Regions from separate parts of the Homo sapiens genome. Here region 2 is linked to region 1. The links are contacts of gene promoters, found by promoter capture Hi-C in human tissues and cell types (Jung and others, 2019). All regions are on one chromosome and are shown on one strand. Each heading gives the region's core, a stretch centred on a gene start or on the middle of the fragment in contact. The rest is flanking DNA. Distances are from core to core; before and after follow the strand shown. Region 1 holds the start of SPTA1 (spectrin alpha, erythrocytic 1). Region 2 overlaps SPTA1 (spectrin alpha, erythrocytic 1).

Evidence for each region. The method cuts DNA at HindIII sites, captures the fragments that hold promoters and counts their contacts. A contact is called where the count stands out against the background at its distance.
Region 2: a contact is called between a fragment that was not itself captured here and the fragment with the promoter of SPTA1 in region 1, in 1 of the 25 tissues and cell types used here (small bowel).

What each region holds. Positions count from the first base shown.
Region 1 is chr1:158,685,428-158,692,455 of GRCh38, reverse strand. SPTA1 (spectrin alpha, erythrocytic 1) reads left to right here and starts at 5,741. Exons shown (of 52, transcript NM_003126.4): 1 at 5,741-5,962. The coding sequence starts at 5,939. RefSeq lists cis regulatory regions at 196-525, 3,023-3,320 and a silencer at 3,680-3,894. The HindIII fragment of the contact is 10,406 bases long and covers 1,259-7,028 here.
Region 2 is chr1:158,634,851-158,641,878 of GRCh38, reverse strand. SPTA1 (spectrin alpha, erythrocytic 1) reads left to right here. Exons shown (of 52, transcript NM_003126.4): 34 at 1,872-2,009; 35 at 2,193-2,297; 36 at 3,638-3,846; 37 at 5,118-5,238; 38 at 5,845-5,966. Among named protein-coding and RNA genes, the nearest start is that of OR10Z1, 33 kb to the right of the region's middle. The HindIII fragment of the contact is 6,441 bases long and covers 255-6,695 here.

The DNA of each region.
Region 1 (7,028 bases), core at 4,492-6,991:
AAAATTTTTTGAATGACATTATCTACTGTTCTAACTCATTTATAAGTCAAAATTGGAGGAATTTTAAAATAAAAACTATTTCTGGAGAAACACAAAGTAAAAATTTAAAATAATAAAAATTTTATGAGAAAAATAGTTTTACATTTAAGTTAAAATATTTGTCTTTATTGGTAATCAGCAGAAAAAGCTGAACTCCAAAAGATCCACAGAAAACAGGTAGGGATTTTAGTGATTCCAGTTGAGAAGACTTTAGAATTTTTGGATATAAAGCATCTCTTTAAGTTTCTGAGTCTAGGAGATCAAACAGATCACTTTGCTCTGATGCCTAAACAGAGGCTGAGGCAAGCTGTTCAGTGCTGATTAAACTGTCATGTAAAGTACAGACCCTCCCAGAGGTGATAACCATGGCCAAATACAGCAGCCCTCCAAATTATTCCTGCCCTTGTAAAGTGGTGTAAAATATATCTAAATATATAATTCTCATTTTAAAATCTCTCTAATTTTTGACTTCTAAATGGGCCAGAGCATTTAGATAATACAATTCAAAAAATAAAGTTTGTTTTTTTTTTTCACTTCAGGTCCTCTAAGATTATTTACCCCTTAACTTTATTTGAAAATTTACTTATTACTCAAGTTCGTAATTCTCTAATAAAAAATAGAACTCTTTTCCAATTTTTTCTTTAAATAATCTGTCTGTAACAAACCCTAGTGTCTCCTGTAAACTCTCAGCACCAATGTATATAGCATAGCATGCAGTTTTTATTCATTTTATTTTATTTATTTTACTTTAAGTTATGGGATACATGAGCAGAACATGCAGGTTTGTTACATAGGAATACATGTGCCACGGTGGTTTGCTGCACCTATCAACCCATCATCTAGGTTTTAAGCCCCGCGTGCATTAGGTATTTGTCCTAATGCACTCCCTCCCCTTGCCCCTCACCCCATGACAGGCCCCAGTGTGTGATGTTTCCCTTCCTGTGTCCATGTATTCTCTTTGTTCAACTCCTACTTGTGAGTGAGAACATGCAGTGTTTGGTTTTCTGTTTCTTTTGGTTTGCTAAGGATGATGATTCCCAGCTTCATCCACATCCCTGCAAAGGACATGAACTCATTCTTTTTTATGGCTGTATAGTATTCCATGGTATATATGTGCCACGTTTTCTTTATCCAGTCTATCATTGATGGGCATTTGGGGCATGCAGTTTTATAGATTGTACTTCCTTTTATACTTCCATGGTATTTTCCATCCATTTTTTTTTTTCCTGAGTCCTTTTAAATAAGGGTCTCTATATGATCAGAGCCAATGAATATTCTTGGGAGATTGTAGAAGTAGAAGAAGAAAGTCAGAGGTCCAAGCGTTAAACCACCAAGGTATAAGACTTTTCCATCATGCCCTTTCTTCTATCTCAGCGACATGCCTTGTTATGTGCACTAATAATCATAAACAATGCTTAGAGACTGGAGAATCAATGTTAGTTTCAAGGGACTTTGAGTGCAGGATGGGACTGAATTTTAAGTCACTAAATGCCAGAGCAGCAGCCAGAGTACTGTCAGAGCAAACTTTACATGAATCTCTGCTGCCTACAATGATGGAAAACTCAAGGAACTCAACAGTTTTTATGTGTCAAAACCTTCCCCTGAATGTCTCCTGTGTACTTCCATATTGCAGTTTTGCTCTAAAGACTATGATTCTGGCCAGGTGCGGTGGCTCAATCCTGTAATCCCAGCACTTTGGGAGGCAGAGGCAGGTGGATCACCTGAGGTCAGGAGTTCGAAACCAGCCTGGCCAACATGATGAAACCCTGTCTCTACTAAAAATACAAAATTAGCCGGGTATGGTGGTGCATGCCTGTAATCCCAGCTACTAGGGGGGCTGAGTCAGGAGGATCACTTGCACCTGAGAGGCAGAGATTGCAGTGAAGTGGGATCGTGCCACTGCACTCCAGCCTGGGCAACAGAGTGAGACTCCAACTCAAAAAACAAAACAAAACAAAACAAAACAAAACAAAACAAAAACCAACCAACCAAACAAACAAACACTATGATTCTTATACACTTTTTTTTCTAATGTGGTGAGAAACAACATGAGATCTATCCTCTTAACACATTTTGAAGTGTACAATACTGTATTGTTAACACTTATACAATGTGTTGTACAGCACAGCTCTAGAATTCAATCATCTTTCATGGATAAAACTTCATACCTACTTAATACCTATTTTTCCTTCCCTCAGCCTCTGACAAGCACTATTTACTCTGTTTCTATGAGTTGGACTATTTTATATACTTCCTATAAGTGGTATCATGCAGTATTTGTCCTTCTGTGACTGGCTTATTTCACTTAGCATAATTTCATCAAGGTTCACTCATGTTGTCATATGTGACAGGATTCCATTTGTTATTATGACTGAATTATTTCAATTGTATGTACATGCCACTTTCATCAGTCATAGACATTTCAATTGTTTCCATTTCTTGACTTTTGTTAATAGTGCTGAGATAAACATAAAAGTGCAAAAGTGCAAATACCTCCTTACAATCCTGATTTTAATTCTTTTGGCTGTATACCCAGAAGTGGGACTGCTAGATTGTATGATAGGTCTATTTTTCGTTTTTAGGCAATGCTACACTGTTTTCCACAGTGGCTGCACCATTTTACATTTCTATCAACAGTGTACAATTGTTCCAACTTCTTCATATTTTCAGCAATACTTATTTTTCTATTCCTTTGAGAGTAGCCATCCTAACAGATGTGAGATAATATCTCAGTATCGCTTTGATTTGCATTTTCCTGATAGTGATGTTGAGCACGTTTTCTTATACCTGTTAGCCAATTGTATGTCTTCTTTGGAAAATCATCTGTTCAAGTCCTTTGCTCATTTTCTAATTTTCGTTTTTGTTATAGATTTGAAGAAGCTCCTTGTATATTTTGGATTTTAACCTCTTGTTAGATGTATGCAAATATTTTCTTCCATTCCATAAGAGAACTTTTTTTATTGCTTATTGTTTTCTTTGCTGTGCAGAAGATGTTTAGTTTGATGTAGTCCAATTTGTTTATTTTTGCTTTTGTTGCATTTGTTTCTGGTACCGTATCCAAGAAGTACTTGGCAAGACCAAACAGATCACTTTGCTCTGATGCCTGAGCAGCAGCTGAGGCAAGCTGTTCAGTGCTGATTAAACTACTATGTAAAGTACAAACCCTCCCTGAGGTGATAACCATGGCCAGATACAACAGCCCTCCAAATTATCCCCATCCTTTTAAAACTGTATAAAATACTAAATATATAATTCTTATTATATATGATAAAAGTCATAAAGCTTTTTCCTTGTGTTTTTTTTTTTCCAGGAGTTTTACAGTTTCAGGTTGTAATTTAAGTCTTTAATCCCATTTGAGTTGATTTTTGTACATAACATAAGGGTCCAATTTCATTTTTTTATGTGAATATGCAATTTTTCCAACACATATGTTGAAAAGACACTTTTATTTCCTTATGATCAGTTCTGCTGATTGGGCCATGCTATTTCTTTTTTTTTAAAATAAACATTATAGAATTAGTAAGCATTTTTACTTTCTTTTTATTGTGATGATTTTACTTTAGTTCTAGGACACATATGAAGAACATGCAGGTTTGTTACATAGGTATACACATGCCATGGTGGTTTGCTGCACCCATCAACCCGTCATCTACATTAGGTATTTCTCCTAATGCTATCCCTCCCCTATCCCACCACCCCCGCAACAGGCTTCAGGGTGTGATGTTTCCCTCCCTGTGTCCATGTGTTCTCATTGTTCAACTCCCACTTATGAGTGAAAACATGTGGTGTTTGGTTTTCTGTCCTTGTGATAGTTTGTGGAGAATGATGGTTTTCAGCTTCATCCATATCCCTGCAAAGGACATGAACTCATCCTTTTTTATGGCTGCATAGTATTCCATAGTGTATAGGTACCACATTTTCTTTATCCAGTCTTTCACTGATAGGCATTCAGGTTGGTTCCAAAGGGCTAATATCCAGAATCTACAAGGAACTTAAACAAATTTACAGGAAAAAAACAAATGACCCCATCAAAAAGTGAGCAAAGGATATGAATAGACACTTCTCAAAAGAAGATATTTATGCAGTCAGCAAACATATGAAAAAAAGCTCATCATAACTGGTCATTAGAGAAATGCAAATCAAAACCACAATGAGATACCATCTCATGCCAGTTAGAATGGCGATCATTAAAAAGTCAGGAAACAGCAGATGCTGGAGACAATGTGGAGAAATAGGAATGCTTTTACACAGTTGGTGGGAGTGTAAGTTAGTTCAACCATTGTGGAAGACAGTGTGGCAATTCCTCAAGGATCTAGAACCATAAATACCATTTGACCCAGCAATCCCATTACTGGCTATATACCCAAAGGATTATAAATCATTCTACTATAAAAACACATGCACACATATGTATATTGTGGCACTATTCACAATGGGCCATACTATTTCTTTGGTCACAAGGTTATCACATGTTTGGCATTCTTGCTAAGATGATTCTGGAACAGGGAAACAGAACAAATAATGTTGATGGACTAAGAGAAGATTGACTAAAAAAATAAGGAGCAGAGTGCCATGATAATCATATTGATATGGATTTGACTATTTAAATACTTTCAAACCAAATCACCATAGAATGAAACTTTGTTTTTTAGGGACTGTTTTCTCACATAAAGACGGGTATGATAATACCTGCCTCACAGAATTTTTAAAGATTAGAAATTAATGTAAATTGATCATGTTAATATATAAATATTTCATAGATGTTGATTCTTTTCTCTTAAAGATAAAATAATTTCCTCTCCTTATCCCAACTTCAGACAAATATTCCTCAGTGCATGTGTTATAGTGCAGTCTCTAAAATTATGTTCCTGCCTTTACTACTAAATTTGACTTGAATATAATGAAACTATATGGAAAAGTAAAGTAATCCAGACTTTCAAGAAGAGAATGTAAAGGACTCTCAGTTTTTCTATGTGAGATCCAAGAACAGGGGAAACCACAAATGTAGAATCAAAATCTTCTCTTGTAGATCATGGAAGTTAGATTATTCAAGCTGCATTTACACTGGAATGAAGTTTGGCATGGATAGCCCCACTGGCTTGTAGAAAGGTCTAAGAGCATCCCACTATTTTCTTTTTGCTTGTTTGTTTCATTTTTGTAAGTTAGTCTAAAATAACTATGCCTATGGAAAAAGTCTACCTCTTTTTGTTCTCCATTAAAATTAATACATACAGTAGGATGATTTATACCATATATATCAGAAGTCAGCCATATTTTCAACTTTTTTGTGACATCATTGGTTTGTCAAATAAGGTATCCTAATTTTTGTTTTACAAAATATTAATGAACACATCATATAACTTTTTTTGTTCCTTCCATTTAAATGATTAAGAGTACAACTAAATCAGATTTTTAAAGACCAAATTGTTGAGGTTAGGAATAAAATCTTATTTTGTGAAAGACTCTCTAGAAAAAGCCAGGATAATTCGTTGACTTAAAGACTGTGAAAAATCTGCAGTTGAGTTGGATGAAGTTGTTGAGCTGTATTTCCTATAAATATATGGGGTTTTTTTTCTAATTTTTCATCCAAAAACCTTACTTTCATTTTTTAAGTCTTATTGAGTAACTTTGAAAGCCAGAGCCTCCCAAAACTGCTGAGTCACCCAGTATCTGTAAAACTTAGCAGTTGCCTCAGCTGAGTATGTCTTCTAAAGATAATGTCGATTGTGTATGGCTGATGGGATTCTAGGACCAAGCAAGAGGTTTTTTTTTTTCCCCCACATACTTAACGTTTCTATATTTCTATTTGAATTCGACTGGACAGTTCCATTTGAATTATTTCTCTCTCTCTCTCTCTCTGACACATTTTATCTTGCCAGGTTCTAAACCTTTAGGAAAAATGGAGCAATTTCCAAAGGAAACCGTAAGTACATATTTCTCTTCCATGCAATTTGTCATTAATATTATTAGGAAAGATGTTTCCTTTAAACTTTCTATACTATCTTTCCCAGGAACATTAATAATTATTTGGCTTTTAACAAATAGATAATTTTACTTTTAACTATTTTTTGTGAACAATAACCTTGAGCTTATGTCTGTGCAGCACCAAGACCCAGTAATGACTTAAGTCGGTTCCCAGAGAGAATAAGTAGGGAGATTGAAGCTAAATAACACCTAGTAACAACGTGAGTCTCCATGTAATGATCTAATTCTATAGCCATGCCAGTAATGGCAATTCACAGAGTAGCAATTATACTTAGGAGGAATAATGGGAGATTAAAATTTAAACTCTATATTAAACATTTTGGCTGAGGTAAGCTAGGGAAAATGGTATCCATATCCAGAAGAATGAAGGTGAACCCTATGGTGATTTTGCTGGATATTGTCACAAACAGGTTGGCTCCCACTCTGGGAAAAGGATACTTATATATTGTTTTAGAGTAAAAGTTTTTATATTTCAAAAATAAATTGCAGACATGCTAATAATTTGAAATTTGTGACAATTGGGCAGAAGATAGCTGAACTTTTGATTTATAGTGTTTGTGAGTAAAGCAAGTAAAGAGTAAATATATGAGATTTATTTTTAAGTATGAAGGAAACAAAATTTTCAAACTGTTGCATATATCATTAACTAAATTAATTGCAAGCCATTCTTAATTATTTATTAAATTAAGTTAAAAATAATAAGCACTTCTCAACACCTTTTTAGCCCTTGAAAGCAATAACATTATATTTCTTTTTATCTATCTGAAATTATGTGATTTTGCTGATTTAAACTTGCTCCATGATCAGTCCAATATAATTATATCTATAGAACTTAAATGCTAGCACAAATTTATGTAAAAAGTGAGGAGAGTCTTCTGGATAATCAAGAATTTTTAACCTAAACAGAAGCTATGTCTGGTTAAAAATTACGTAAATATACTACAGCTCTTCTGACAATAGTCCCTAGAAACTTCAGGATATCTGAATATAGGTCCAACATGAGT
Region 2 (7,028 bases), core at 2,226-4,725, 48 kb after region 1:
GTGCCGCAATAAACATATGTGTGCATGTGTCTTTATAGCAGCATGATTTATAATCCTTTGGGTATATACCCAGAAATGGGAAGGCTGGGTCAAATGGTGTTTCTAGTTCTGGATCCCTGAGGAATTGCCACACTGTCTTCCCCAATGGTTGAACCAGTTTACAGTCCCACCAGCAGTGTAAAAGTGTTCCTATTTCTCCACATCCTCTCCAGCACCTGTTGTTTCCTGACTTTTTAATGATCACCATTCTAACTGGTGTGAGATGGTATCTCATTGTGGTTTTGATTTGCATTTCTCTGATGACCAGTGATGATGAGCATTTTTTCATGTGTCTTTTGGCTGCATAAATGTCTTCTTTTGAGAAGTGTCTATTCATATCCTTCACCTACTTGTTGATGGGGTTGTTTGTTTTTTTCTTGTAAATGTGTTGGAGTTCATTGTAGATTCTGGATATTAGCCCTTTGTCAGATGAGTGGATTGCAAACATTTTCTCCCATTCTGTAGGTTGCCTCTTCACTCTGATGGTAGTTTCTTTTGCTGTGCAGAAGCTCTTTAGTTTAATTAGATCCCATTTGTCAATTTTGGCTTTTGTTGCCATTGCTTTTGGTGTTTTAGACATGAAGTCCTTGCCCATGCCTATGTCCTGAATGGTATTGCCTAGGTTTTCTTCTAGGGTTTTTATGGTTTTAGGTCTAACATTTAAGTCTTTAATCCATCTTGAATTAATTTTTGTATAAGGTTTAAGGAAAGGATCCAGTTTCAGCTTTCTACATATGTCTAGCCAGTTTTCCCAGCACCATTTATTAAATAGGGAATCCTTTCCCCATTGCTTGTTTTTCTCAGGTTTGTCAAAGATCAGATGGTTGTAGATAAGCAGCATTATTTCTGAGGGCTCTGTTCTGTTCCGTTGGTCTATATCTCTGTTTTGGTACCAGTACCATGCTGTTTTGGTTACTGTAGCCTTGTAGTATAGTTTGAAGTCAGGTAGCGTGATGCCTCCAGCTTTGTTCTTTTGCCTTAGGATTGACTTGGCAATGTAGGCTCTTTTTTGGTTCCATATGAACTTTAAAGTAGTTTTTTCCAATTCTGTGAAGAAAGTCATTGGTAGCTTGATGGGAATGGCCTTGAATCTATAAATTACCTTGGGCAGTATGGCCATTGATTCTTCCTACCCATGAGCATGGAATATTCTTCCATTTGTTTGTATCCTCTTTTATTTCATTGAGCAGTGGTTTGTAGTTCTCCTTGAAGAGGTCCTTCACATCCCTTGTAAGGTGGATTCCTAGGTATTTTATTCTCTTTGAAGCAATTGTGAATGGGAGTTCACTCATGATTTGGCTCTCTGTTTGTCTGTTATTGGTGTATAAGAATGCTTGTGATTTTTACACATTGATTTTGTATCCTGAGACTTTAATGTTCCATGAGTAGAAATATAAAATATGTTCTGTGACCATATCACAGAAAAACAGTCTTCCCTCTGATTGTTGCACAAAGAAGGAGAAAAGGAGTGATGCCCAGACCTTATCACTCCCATCATACTCAGTACCTGGAACACTAAGAAAGCTTCGGCTTAATTCCAAACTCTTATCATGCTTGTTTTACATTTTCTATCCCTTCTGCCAATAGTTTTTTGGCATTTGTATGTCAGTCTCTTTACTCAACACAGGACCCTTTTTTAAACTTTCTCTTTTGTCCAACAACTCCTATTGTTTTCCCAGATTAAGTATAACTGGTTTGAAATGTATGATATTCAAGTATCAGCAAATTTTGGCTAGTTCCTGCCTTCACAGCCTTCCTACATTATTCTCTCAAGTAGTCACAGGGCCCGGGATCCTAAAGATTGTAATGACTCCTCACTCTCCTTGGGTTAGGAGCAACTGGAACAGCTGAAGGAACATTGGGATCATCTGCTTGAGAGAACAAATGACAAAGGGAAGAAGCTCAATGAGGCCAGTCGTCAACAGAGGTTCAACACAAGCATCCGGGACTTTGAGTTCTGGCTCTCAGAGGTAATTGCACCCGGAAACAGTAGAGACACAAGAGTTTAATACATACTTGTCAGACAAATGAATTTACCCATGGGCAATTTCCTTGAATTTTCCTGGGAAAAGTTTGGGGACATAGCTGCTGATCTTATTCTCCTTAAAGGCAGTTTCACCTGGCAGCTTTATTGCTTATTTCTCTATTTCCAGGCAGAGACATTGCTGGCCATGAAAGATCAGGCCAGGGACTTGGCTTCAGCAGGAAACCTACTCAAGAAGCATCAGCTATTGGAGAGAGAGATGTTGGCTCGAGAGGTAAGTAGTGTTGGCATCCCTCTCCTCTGGGCAGAATAGAAATATTTCTGGCTCTTCTCCCTCCCATGTTAGGAGACCATTTGAAAACATAGCCTTGCAAAATTGTTCTTAGTGTTCTCAACCAGCAGTCATTTTAATTAGGTAAAATTAACGGGCTGTGAAGACATTAAAACTGTCACTGATAATCAATTATCCCTAAACTATAGACTTTAAGATTCCAGAAAGTGGACCTGGGAAACTATCTTTTTTATCTTTTACTGATGCATACATATAAGCCAATTGTCTTTAAGCTATATATTTGATCTGGTATTTGAAAGAAAGTGGAAGTTTACTTTATAGAATTACAAACAAAAAATCAGATGGGGGCATGTGAAATGAAGATGAACTACACAAACACTCTGGAAATCCTGTCAAGGATTCTGGTTGCATCCTAATAGCAACCAAAAATTTGTGCTGAGAGCAGTGATAAAAATGCTGACAGTTGTTAATTTTATACTAAAGAATTTTATAATTATCATTTTACTTGATAATACAGATACACACAGAAAAGGCAGGAAGTCAAAGGCCTTGGGACTTGGTGATGTTTCCTGTGACATCACTAAGGGGCTGGGTTAGAATAGGAGTAGACACAGAAGAGATAGATGTGTTCAATGGGCAGCTAAGAATGTTGCCCATAGAGTAGTTCTTGTTGAATATTGAATCAATCAATCTGTGGCTGCCAAAGTTGGTACTGTCAAATCAATCAATCTGTGGCTATCAAAGTCAGTATAAGACAGTCTTGTATGGGAACGAATGATTGCCCGCCAAGATTTTCCTTTTTTTTTTTTTTTTTTTTTGGTACCAGCTCAAGCAATTCTCCTGCCTCAGCCTCCCAAGTAGCTGAGATTACAGGCACACGCCAGCATGCCCGGCTAATTTTTGTGTTTTTAGTACAGACAGGGTTTCACCATGTTGGCCACAGTGGTCTTGAACTCCTGACTTCTTGATCCAACCGCCTTGGCCTCTCAAAGTGCTGGGATTACAGGCATGAGCCACCGCACCTTGCTGGTTTTCTTTTTTAGTTGGGGAGAGAAGGCAAATACTGAAAATATCAGAAGGAGAAACAGGACACAGGCTAAATGTACAGTTTGAGTAATGTAGTCATGCTACCTCTATCGCTCCCACATATGGCCCTTCTCCAACCTGAACATATGCTAACATGTATAACACATAATCAAACTCCATGTCTTTAAAAGCAATCCATTTGGCCCAGTCTTTGAGCCAGACCAGCTGTTGTTAAAGTGTGGGATCTGAGTAATGCCTATACTATACTATTCACTGAGTATCCCGAGACTTTCTAGGATGCACTCAAGGACCTGAATACATTGGCTGAAGATTTGCTCTCCAGCGGGACTTTCAACGTTGATCAGATTGTGAAGAAAAAAGATAATGTCAACAAGCGTTTCCTGAATGTCCAAGAATTGGCAGCTGCACACCACGAAAAATTGAAAGAGGCCTATGCCTTGTTCCAGTTCTTCCAGGATCTAGATGATGAGGAATCCTGGATAGAGTATGTGCCACCAGCTCAAAAATGTGTGGATAATACAAGCGAGTAGATAATCCACCAAACTTGTTCCAATTTATGCTGAAATGAAATTTGTACTTGTTTCTTGAAGATAGCACTACTTCATGTTTGCCTCAGCTTAAGGTTAACATTGGTTTTATTTTTCCCAAATTCCCTTACTGGATGCAAGCCAGAGAAAGACAGGTGTGGAGGAAGTGAAGAGCAGTTAACATACATGACAGGAACAAAACTAAGAAGCCATCTGCATTTGCTCTGTAGTTCATTGAATAATATGCAATACTCACAGAGACACCTGGACATTTACACAGCTGATCAGAACCTTGTCATTCTATATCCAGTATATCTTATATGACACTGAATTGGACACTCAATAGAGAATATTACAAAGTATCTACCAAGGTTTCATTACTCATTCCATTTTTGGTTACACAGCTGGTCAGAACCTTGTCATTCTATATCCAGTATATCTTATATGACACTGAATTGGACACTCAATAGAGAATATTACAAAGTATCTACCAAGGTTTCATTACTCATTCCATTTTTGTTGTAAAATATGATTTGGAAAATCTTAGCACATTACACTATTTTGCCTACTTCCCATTTAACCTGCCTCATCACGCTTCTCTTCTACAAAGCTGCTTGATTATTATGAGTAATCAATAAATTAGAGGGAAGCACCATGCACAGGGCAACAAATAACATGTTTTAAAAACCTTTTTGGATAAGACCATAAGATAGAATAATCTTGTCCATGTAGTCTTCGACTGTACTTCGTGGTGATGCTCAAACCTTTTGCACTTGGAAGCATCCCAACTGCCATGACTCCTATGAAATCAGCTCTTTATACCCATTCTAGCTGAATTTATTATTGACATTAATAAATGAAAATAACAAAACCTGTGGAGGTCATATATAATTTTCACATTTTTTTGAAATAGGAAACATTAGTGTGTATTCTTGAGCAAAAAAGAGAAGATATACAAGTGGAGAAGCAAAGGGACTAATGGAAAGGCTGTTACAGTTGTGACTATGGTGGAGATCAGTATGTTACTTTAATTTGTATTGGCTCAGTCAGAAGTTTTGCTGCAAGCCTCTTCCACTAATTATATTTTTGGTCATTGGCACCAGGGTATTACAGAATTTACAACCACCTCCCTCACCACCAGCCACACACATAGTCATAGAAAGCTATTGCTGTAGGATGACATTAGATGTCTAGACTCCAAACTTTCTGTTTTCTTCCTTGATTTTAGGGAGAAGTTGATACGAGTGAGCTCCCAGGACTATGGGAGAGATCTTCAGGGGGTTCAGAACTTGCTGAAGAAGCACAAACGCCTAGAGGGGGAGCTGGTGGCCCATGAGCCTGCCATCCAGGTAGGAATAGAATACCAGATCTGAAAATATAGAAATCATCCTATAGCAACCCCTTGTGTTACAGATAAATAAGAGGGTGCTACAAAACGTGAAAATAGGATGTCAAGGTCAGAGAGAGTTAGTCAAAGAGTTTACAAATATTCTTTTCTCTTCCACATTTAGTCTCCTATAAGTAGAAGAGTTCTGAACAAGAACCCATGCTCTTCCCTGGAAGGAGCACTCTTAACACTCCTGGGGAATGATTGACAATTGGGATGCAGGTTGGGACATCTGGGAAAACTGTACTTGAGCCATCTGGGAAGAAGGCAACTCTGGGTCTGACTTGGCAGCAGGGTCACTCTGTGACCATGAATAGACGAAAAAGCAGATTAGGGAGAGTAGACTAGTGCAAGTACTGATATATTTGCAAATACTTGGGAAAGTTTAGCATAGCAAATCTTCTTGCAGCTTTCATCATTCTCCCTGGACTTTCAGGACCCTCACAAAGTCCCGTGGAGTTTATAAATAATCTGGAGGGTAGGATGGGCTAGATACTTTGCTCAGGGACTATGGCTAAATGGGGAGAGATTGTGGGGTAATGGAACATGTATCGGGGTTGTTCTTCAGAATGTGCTGGATATGGCAGAGAAGCTGAAAGACAAGGCTGCTGTGGGGCAAGAGGAGATCCAGTTGCGGCTGGCTCAGTTTGTTGAACACTGGGAGAAGCTCAAAGAGTTGGCCAAGGCCCGGTGAGTGGGATACAGAAGGCCCAGTTCCCTTCCTGGATTTTGGATATTGGGCAGGTGTTGGGAGGATACTTAAGTGCCTGCTCAGCATTGTCTGCTATCCCCAACTACCTATCTATCTCCTTAAGTCCCTTCTCAAATGACAAGTTTACCACAAAGCTTTCCTCCATATACCCCAGACACGATGATCACTGCCTCTGTTCTAAATCTACCTCTCCTTCTGCATTTACATGCAACTGTCTTTTACTATTGTTTTCCTACATGTGTTATCCTTCATATCAGGTTATTAGCCACACATCTGTTCTGCTTTATCTCCCAGTTTTCATATTATAATCAGCCCTTAGTAATGTAAGGACGAAGAATTATTTTTCCCTATAGCCATATAGCCAATTTGAACCACATACACAATGTATCAGTCCGTTCTCACATTGATATAAAGAACTACCCGAGACTGGGTATTTATGAAGAAAAGAAGTTTAATTCACTCATAGTTTCATAGGCTGTACAGGAAGCATGACTGGGAGGCCTCAGGAAACTTACAATCATGGCAGAATGCAAAGAAAGAAGAACATCTTAGCAAGGCAGGGAGCGGGCGGGGGCGGGGAGAGTGCTAAACACTTTTAAACCATCAGATCTTGCAAGAACTCACTCACTATCATGAAAACAGTAAGGAGAAAATCTGCTCCCATGATCCAATCACCTCCCACCAGGCCCCTCCCCTGATACATAGGGATTACAGTTCAAGATGAGATTTGGGTGGGGAAACGGAGCCAAACCATATCACACATATAGCCAAATATAACGATTTCTGTCTGTAGTTCCATTTTTCCTGGGGGGGGCTAAAAGGAAGATTCTGGCACTTCGTGGTGTCTTCATCATATACGAAAGAAGGCAGTGCTCAGAGTAGAAAGAGACATTGTGTCACTGCTGATATTCTCCAACACTGAAGTCATCATTTCCCTTTTTTTGGTTAGGGTGGGTTTCCTCCCTCCAGCAAAGTTTCTTAAGACAGTAGATGGTGCCACAAAATGAACTTCTAGAGCAGGCGTCTCCTCCATTTCACAG